2 separate regions of the Homo sapiens genome follow, and region 2 is linked to region 1. Evidence: promoter capture Hi-C in 16 types of primary human blood cells and fetal thymus (Javierre and others, 2016). All regions are on one chromosome and are shown on one strand. The core of a region is centred on a gene start or on the middle of the fragment in contact, and the rest is flanking DNA. Distances in the headings are between cores, read along the strand shown. Region 1 holds the start of CAMSAP2 (calmodulin regulated spectrin associated protein family member 2). Region 2 overlaps KIF21B (kinesin family member 21B).

Region 1 (3,669 bases), core at 629-3,128:
ACAAAGGGACCTGCTTTTTGATGGAGCTGCCCTCTGCCTTTACTAGTTGTGCAGAATAAGAGTAATTAATTTTTTTTTCTGAGCCTTAGTTTTCTCATCTGTATAATGAAGATAATACAGGATTTTATAATGATTAAAATTAGATAATGCTAGCGCTTTGGGAGGCTGAGGTGGGAGGATCCCTTGAGTCCAGGAGTTTGAGACTAGCCTGGGCAACATAGGGAGACCTCATCTCTACAAAAAATAAACAAAATTAGCTGGGTGTGGTGATGTGTGCCTGTAATCCCAGCTATATGGGAGTCTGAGATGGGAGGATTGCTTGAGCCTGGGAGGTTGAGACTGCAGTGAGCTGTGATTTTGCCATTGTATTCCAGCCAGGGCAACAAAGCAAGACCCTGTCTCAAAAAATAATAATAATAGGCTGGGCGCAGTGGCTCACATCTGTAATCCCAGCGCTTTGGAAGGCTGAGGTTGGCGGATCACCTGAGGTCAGGAGTTCGAGAGCAGCCTGGTCAACATGGTGAAACCCCATCTCTACTAAATACACAAAAAATCAGCTGGGCGTGGTGGTGCGCGCCTGTAGTCCCAGCTACTCAGGAGGCTGAGGCAGGAGAATCGCTTGAGCCCTAAAGGTGGAGATTGCACTGAGCTGAGATCTTGCCACCACTCTCCAGCCTGGGCGACTTAACAAGACTCCGTCTCAATAATAATAATAATAACAACAACAATCACTTAAAAATAAAATTAGATAATGTATTAAAATGAGACGTGAGGAGCTAGTGATTTAAGTAAGCTCAGTATGTGTTAACTTTGATAATATTCACATGTAGTCCATTAATTGAGCAATTATACTATGGGGCTGGGCACCGTATAGCTGCTGGAGATATACCCTGTCATCATGTCATCAATGGGAAAAACCGACAAGTAACTGATTATTGCCACACGATGTGACAGATGCTACGACAGAAATAAGAACAGGGTGCTCCGGGAACAACAGGGGAGGCACCTGTGTGACAGCCCTGACTGGAAAGTTGTCAGCAGCTGTCAGGGAAGGCTTCATGGAGGAAGTGACTACTGTGGAGTTTGAAGGTGCAGTAGGAGTAAGCTGGGTGGACAGAGGAACCACCCTGAGCAAGGAGGTAGAGATCTGAGAAGGCATGCTCATTGAAGAAAATAGAGAGCAGTTCTGACAAAATGAAGCTATAAAGGCCTGTAGATGCCAGATCACAAAGGGCATTAGCTTGTTTTGTGAAAGAATTTATGCTCTTTTCTGAGAGAATGGGGAGGCATTGTTGGACGTGTGCCCTCTCAGAGATAAAATTTAAGTGGAGAGCACTGAGTTAAGAAAATATCTCGATATCATGAAATTAACACAGGTTTGGAGCCCCCACAGATCCTCAATCCTGGTTAAGTTCCATGTATGACCTAATCAACTCCACCTCTCTTTCGTGGACAATCAGCAATGACATCTACCTCTCAGGATTATTGCGAGGGCTAAATGAGATAGTGCAGGTCAAGTTCGCTGCAAAGTGTGTGTCACATAATGAACATTTTAAGTAAATATCAACTCTTTTCGATGAAGCACTGTGTAAGTAGAATACGAAAGCTATTGCCAGGCCTCTCCCTCCTCCCTCCCTTCCTTTTCCTCTCTCAGCAGTGCAGGCAGCAGCAGCCAAAAGCCAGGGACGTGGAGGATGTCCACTGAAGCGAGTACTCCAGAGCGATGATTAAAAGGCAGCCGCCCCGAATCCCGGGCGCGGGCGGGGAGCGAGGCTGGGCATGCTCAGTGGGCCGGAGACGGGAGGGAAGCGGGGAGGGGGCGGGGGCGGGGGCGGGGGTTGGGGGGGGTGGGTCGGAGCCGCGCGAAGGCGCATGCTCAGTCTCCGCATCTGCTCCTTCATCCAGTGCCGCAGCCGGAAAACCGCAGCGGCGGCGGCGGCGGCTGAGGGGGAACGATCCAGCGAGCTGCAGAAAGGGGGGCAGGAAAAAATTACAAGGACATTACTGATAAGACAGGAACTGAGAGCTTGGGATTCGCGGCCTCTCCCCGGCCACCACCTTCGCCGTCAGCAAGGGAGGAAGACCCGGGAGACGGCAGCGGCGACGGCGGCAGGGGAAGGAGGAGACGGCGACGGGAGGGAGCACAGAGGAGGGGACGGGCCGGCGGCGGCCTGTGAGCCGCAGTGATTTTGACGTTTTCCGCTGCTGCGTCTCCGGCGGGCAGGGGCCGGGCTGCGCTGGGTGGGCCAGCTCGCCCCGCGCTTCCCCCTCGTCCTGCTCGTCCCTCCGCCCACCCGGGGCCTGAGGGGTCTCCCCGCTCCGAGGGAAGGGGAGAGGGAGGCGAGGGCGTGCGGGCATCGCGATGGCGGGGACATTTTCCACAACGTGATTGTTGAAGGCTCCCCCCATCCCCCCTCCCTTAAAATTCCGGGCCCTTCCAGCCTCCACCCTCCCCCAAGCCCGTGTGACTAAACCGAGACAAAGGGGAGGCGGCCTCGCTCACACGCGGGCTCGCGGGGCGGGTGGCTCGGAGGGGCGCGGGCACGGGGCGGACCTCGCGCGGACGGACGGACGGAGACGGCGCCGCCACATTCCTATGCCCGGGAGCGGCGGCGGCGGCGGCGGCGGCTCCCGCGGGAGGCGGCAGGCGCGCGGCGCGGACAGCTGAGCTTCTCCTCCGTCGGCGCCCGGGCGGACATCGCCCGGGCCCCGATGGTTTGAGCTTGCTTCTCCCTCCCTCCCGACCCCCGTGGTGGCGAGGCCACGCCATGTGAAGGTTAGGGCCGGGACATCCCGAGGAGCCGCGGTGAAAGATGGGGGATGCTGCAGACCCCAGGGAGATGAGAAAGACGTTCATTGTTCCAGCCATCAAGCCTTTTGACCACTATGATTTCTCCAGGGCCAAAATCGCCTGCAATCTGGCCTGGCTGGTGGCCAAAGCCTTTGGGACAGGTTAGTGGTGTCACCCTTTCCCTCCCCTCTTCCTCCTGATGTGGTCCACATCTCGGTTTTTGTTCCCGATTCTCGAATCCCTCCCTCCCCGTGCCTGTCTTCTCGTACAGGTTAAGGGAGATGATGGGAGGCTAGGAAGAGAAAGAAAGGAGAAATAAGGAAAGCAGGTTTGGTCTTCAATGAAGGGCACGTGAATGGTCAGGTGGGATTTGGCCAGATTCCTTTTATTGGATGGCAAAATGTCCCCCCCATCCCCCAGTGAGCAATTTTATGTTTTTACATAGAGTGGTTTTGATTTGTGGTATTTTCTTCATTGTGTTGCGTACATTTCTGCCTCAGTCATAATTGTGATTACACCACCAAGAAATCTGAGTTGGTTTCTTTATTATTGCAAGAAGGTGGATGGTGCATAGTACTATATTGATTTTGACATTTGTAATGATGGCTGCTATTCAGGCTCCGTTGGATGTAAGGTGGCCTGTGTCGAGTGCAGTATTAATTTTTGTTGTCATTCTTTAAGGCTGTATCAGCCTTCTGCACGCATGTTAAGTTCTTATTAAATCAGTTATTTAAAACCAGCGTTCAGTTTGCTGACTGTAGGGTGCAGTTTTCATTTCATATTATCAGTGAGGCATATTCTTTTTTCCAAATGTATTTTGGCTTCATAAATTAAAAGAAACAAAAACTCCCTACTTTGGGAAGTTTTTTAATAGATGA
Region 2 (3,669 bases), core at 633-3,132, 280 kb after region 1:
GAGGAATGCAGAGCAACAGAAGGCTGGCTGTGGAGGGCAGCAAGCCTCTCCCCACCACACCGGCCCTGGCCCCCTGCCCACACTGCATGCAGGACAGCTCTCCAGGGTGCACCTTAAGTCAGCCTCAGGTGGGACCAGCCCAGCCTTCATAAAGGACAGGGGGCTTCACCTCAGGAAAGCAGAGGGATAGACACTCAGGCATTTGGGGATGGGATGGCAGCATGACCTCCTTTCCACACCCCAGAGCAGCTGGAGGTGAAAGAGAAAGTCCTCCAGAAACAGGGTACTGCAGCCAACACTGCTGCCGCCTGCCCTGGAGCTTCACATAGGGATTGAGGTGGGTGGATCTCTGGGGCCAAGGAAGAGCCGTTCCAGTCCAGCTTCCCTCATGGCAGGGAAGCAACCTCTGACCCCCACCCAGCCCAGGGCCCTCTCAGTGCCCCTCTGGCTGTTCTAAGAGGGAGGGGCACAGAAGACATTGCTTTCCTCCTCAATGTTCTCAATACTTTCTAGAGGGTAAAATGAAAGGCTAGGAGACCTAGCACACATGGGGTTCCGCCCTTTGGTGTGTGTGAGGTGGGGGGCCAGCAAAAGACTTGGCTGCCCCCAGAATATCCTTCCTGAGAGAGTGCCAAGGTGGAATTCAGGCAGGAAGACACATGCCAGGGATGGCTGCAGTGATCTAAGAAAGGGAGAATGTGGCTGGAGAAGCTCCCCAAACACAAACGATGACAGCACGGATTTAGGAGCTAGGACCATGGTGGTGCCAGGCAGCCCCATGCTGCTAAGCAATCCCATACAGGAGAATCTGGACAGCCTCAGCCCTGCCACACATCTGCACAGCACCATGTGCCTTTCCATTTTCACTTTCCCACATTCATGTTCACGGCCACTGTGTGTAGTAAAGCATTTGAAGAAACTGAGGCATAGAGACTTCAAGAACACAGCTAATTAGCACCTCAATTAGGAGGCAGCTTAGAGTTGCATGAAGAGCATGTGTTCACAACTGAGAATACCCTGGGTTCAAATCCAGCCTCCTCCATTTGCCACCTGTGTTTGTGCATCTATATGATGGGAATAACATCAATCACCTAGCCAGCTGAATGGGATGCTGTAGGCACAGAGTAAGTGTTCAATACATTATAGTGCTTAGCCACCTCCTGGTTCATACTCCTCTCCACCACACCATGCATTCTGCTCTAAATTAATATATTAATCAAAGGACTGGAGGTGAATTCAATTTACTAAATAGTTCACTAAAGCTTAAACTACAGAGACATCTCTTAGGTACACTTACATTAGGGCCCATTTTATTTTATTTTATTTTTGAGAAAGATTCTTGCTTAGTCACCCAGGCTGGAGTGCAGTGGTGCGATCTCAGCTCACTGCAACCTCCGCCTCCCAGGTTCAAGTGATTCTCCTGTCTCAGCCTCCTGAGTAGCTGGGACTACAGGCATGCGCCACCATGTCCGTCTAATTTTTGTATTTTTAGTAGAGATGGAGCTTCACCATATTGGTCAGGCTGGTCTTGAACTCCTGACCTTGTGATCCACCTGCCTCAGCCTCCCAAAGTGCTGGGATCACAGTCATGAGCCACTGCGCCTGGCCTAGGACCCATTTTTTTTAAAAAAACATTTTATTTATATTCAATTCCTCAGGAATCTACTCTGCATTTTGTTCCCTCCAAAGATTTTATGTCCGTCTTCCTCCAAGCCACTGCTCTTCACAAATGAACAAACCAGAACACAGCAGTTCCCATTTTCCAGTGGGTAAAACTGAGGCCCACAAAAGACAAACAGGGAAGGTGCCCCATGACGAAGCCAGTGGATGAATTGCATCAGTTCCTGCCCTGCCCTTTGCCCCCAGGGTTGCAAAAATAAGCATGCCAGGCACATATCACCTCTGCCACCTCCCTGGCCCAGGCCTGGGCCCCGCCTCACCTCCACTTGGAGGTTTTCAAAAGCTGAGATCCAATCAGGCAGGCAGGCTGGGTGGTGGAGGGGGAGGTTTCCGGGGCCTGTGGTTACTACACTCCACTTCCTTATGATGACATAAACCCTATTTCTGCAGCAGGAGGCCACCACCAAGATTCTCAGGTCTCCACACAGCCCACATGAGGCCCTGTATGGGCCTCAGTTTCTGAGATCTGTAAACTGGACACAGGTGGCATTGATTGGCATTGACTGGCTTTGGGACTCGGAAGGCACCCCAAATACCCATTCCCCCACAGTTTCTTCTGTCTTCTTCAGTCTTTCTCTCCCAAGCCACCACTGCTCTTGGTTCAAAATTCAGACAGTCATTGACCAAGATTTCAGAGTAGCCTAGAACTAGGGAAATAACTGCAGCTAGAGAACCCAAATGGGAGAGGGCTGGGGTGCAATCTAACATTGTCCCTTGGGTCCCTTGGATCCCCCCCAAACCCCTACCTATCCCCTACTTAACCCTGTAGTATCAACAGATGGATGCTGGGCTGGCCAAGCACCGCCAAGCAGACTAAAGGAAGGAAGCTTAGGGAAGCCAGGCAGAGATAAGAGGGGAGGGGGCTAGGCAACACTGAGGTCTCCCCTCATGGTGGGGGCTCAGAGCTGGGGACTTGAAAGGGTCTTAAACAAATTTGCCATGTGACTTAGCTTCCTTCCCCAATTTCAACTTTGCCAACTTGCATTTCTTAACAGCTACCCCTTTCTCGCCCCATTTGTCAGGCCTATATCTCTGCAGCCTGGGGCAGGTCACAGCTCCGCCCCACCTCTCTCTAGCCTTGCTACACACCTCCTCCCCCAGGTGACTGCCAGTTCTAGTCCAGCCCAGGAAGCTGAGAATCTTTACAGTACAAGGGGATTAATGGATAAAGGGATCACAGGGCAGGCTGGAGAGGCCAGCCTGGGAATCCCTTGGTGCAAAGCCGACTAGCCTGGGTTCAGGGACAGATGGGCCAGATTCCATCTAGCTGGGGAGGCCACAAGGTGGGGCTTTTGGGGTCTGCTCACCCCTGAACTTTCTTCCCTTACCCTGAGCCCCAGGTCCTGAAAGTTTCCTCCTCCGGCTCTCCAGGAGCCCAGGCCTTCACTGAAGCGTTTCACAGCCAGCCAGCTTCGATCTCTTCATCCCAAACAGATTGCAGGGCCAAGAGCCTTAGGCCTGGCACTTCTCACCTAGTCTAATAGCCCTGGGACCTCTCTCCTCTACACACACACACACACACACACACACACACACACAATCAGACCACACCTGTCTCATTCCTGGCCTTCCCTGTCTGAAGAGCTGGACTCCAGGCTCGCTATGTTATTCTCATGGAAATTCAGAAGGCACTTCAGTTGGATTCAAGAAAGGACTTCCAGAAAGTCAGAAAGACAGCTGAACCTGGCAGGAGGTAGTGAGCCCTGGGGCTGGACTAGGCCCTGGACAAGCCTTGCCCTTCCCATAAATGGTCTACTGTAGTGCAGCCCACCACCCAGTCTTTCAGGTGAGAGAAGTGATTTCTGGGGGTGCTGCGGGGGAGGATGGGTAGAAGAGGATCTAAAAACAAGGAAAACTCCCCCTACAGCCCATCACTGGTACCATCTGCTCTCCTTCCCAGCCCAGCCCAGCCCCAGCTCAGTCCTAAGCTCTCTGATTAGAAACTGGGTTCTGTCCAGGCATTGTCTGCTGTACACGGCCGGCTGCCCA

Evidence for each region. The method cuts DNA at HindIII sites, captures the fragments that hold promoters and counts their contacts. A CHiCAGO score of 5 or more calls a contact.
Region 2: a fragment that was not itself captured here is called in contact with the fragment with the promoter of CAMSAP2 in region 1 in 1 of 17 cell types (activated CD4 T cells); the score reaches 6.3 in activated CD4 T cells.

The regions. Positions count from the first base shown.
Region 1 is chr1:200,737,015-200,740,683 of GRCh38, forward strand. CAMSAP2 (calmodulin regulated spectrin associated protein family member 2) reads left to right here and starts at 1,879. Exons shown (of 17, transcript NM_203459.4): 1 at 1,879-2,952. The coding sequence starts at 2,814. RefSeq lists an enhancer at 1,509-1,588 and silencers at 2,229-2,588, 2,619-2,688. The HindIII fragment of the contact is 5,817 bases long and covers 1-3,669 here.
Region 2 is chr1:201,017,625-201,021,293 of GRCh38, forward strand. All of the region lies in intron 1 of KIF21B (kinesin family member 21B), which reads right to left. Among named protein-coding and RNA genes, the nearest start is that of KIF21B, 4.3 kb to the right of the region's middle. RefSeq lists enhancers at 1,817-2,111, 2,217-2,316 and a silencer at 3,467-3,616. The HindIII fragment of the contact is 1,245 bases long and covers 1,261-2,505 here.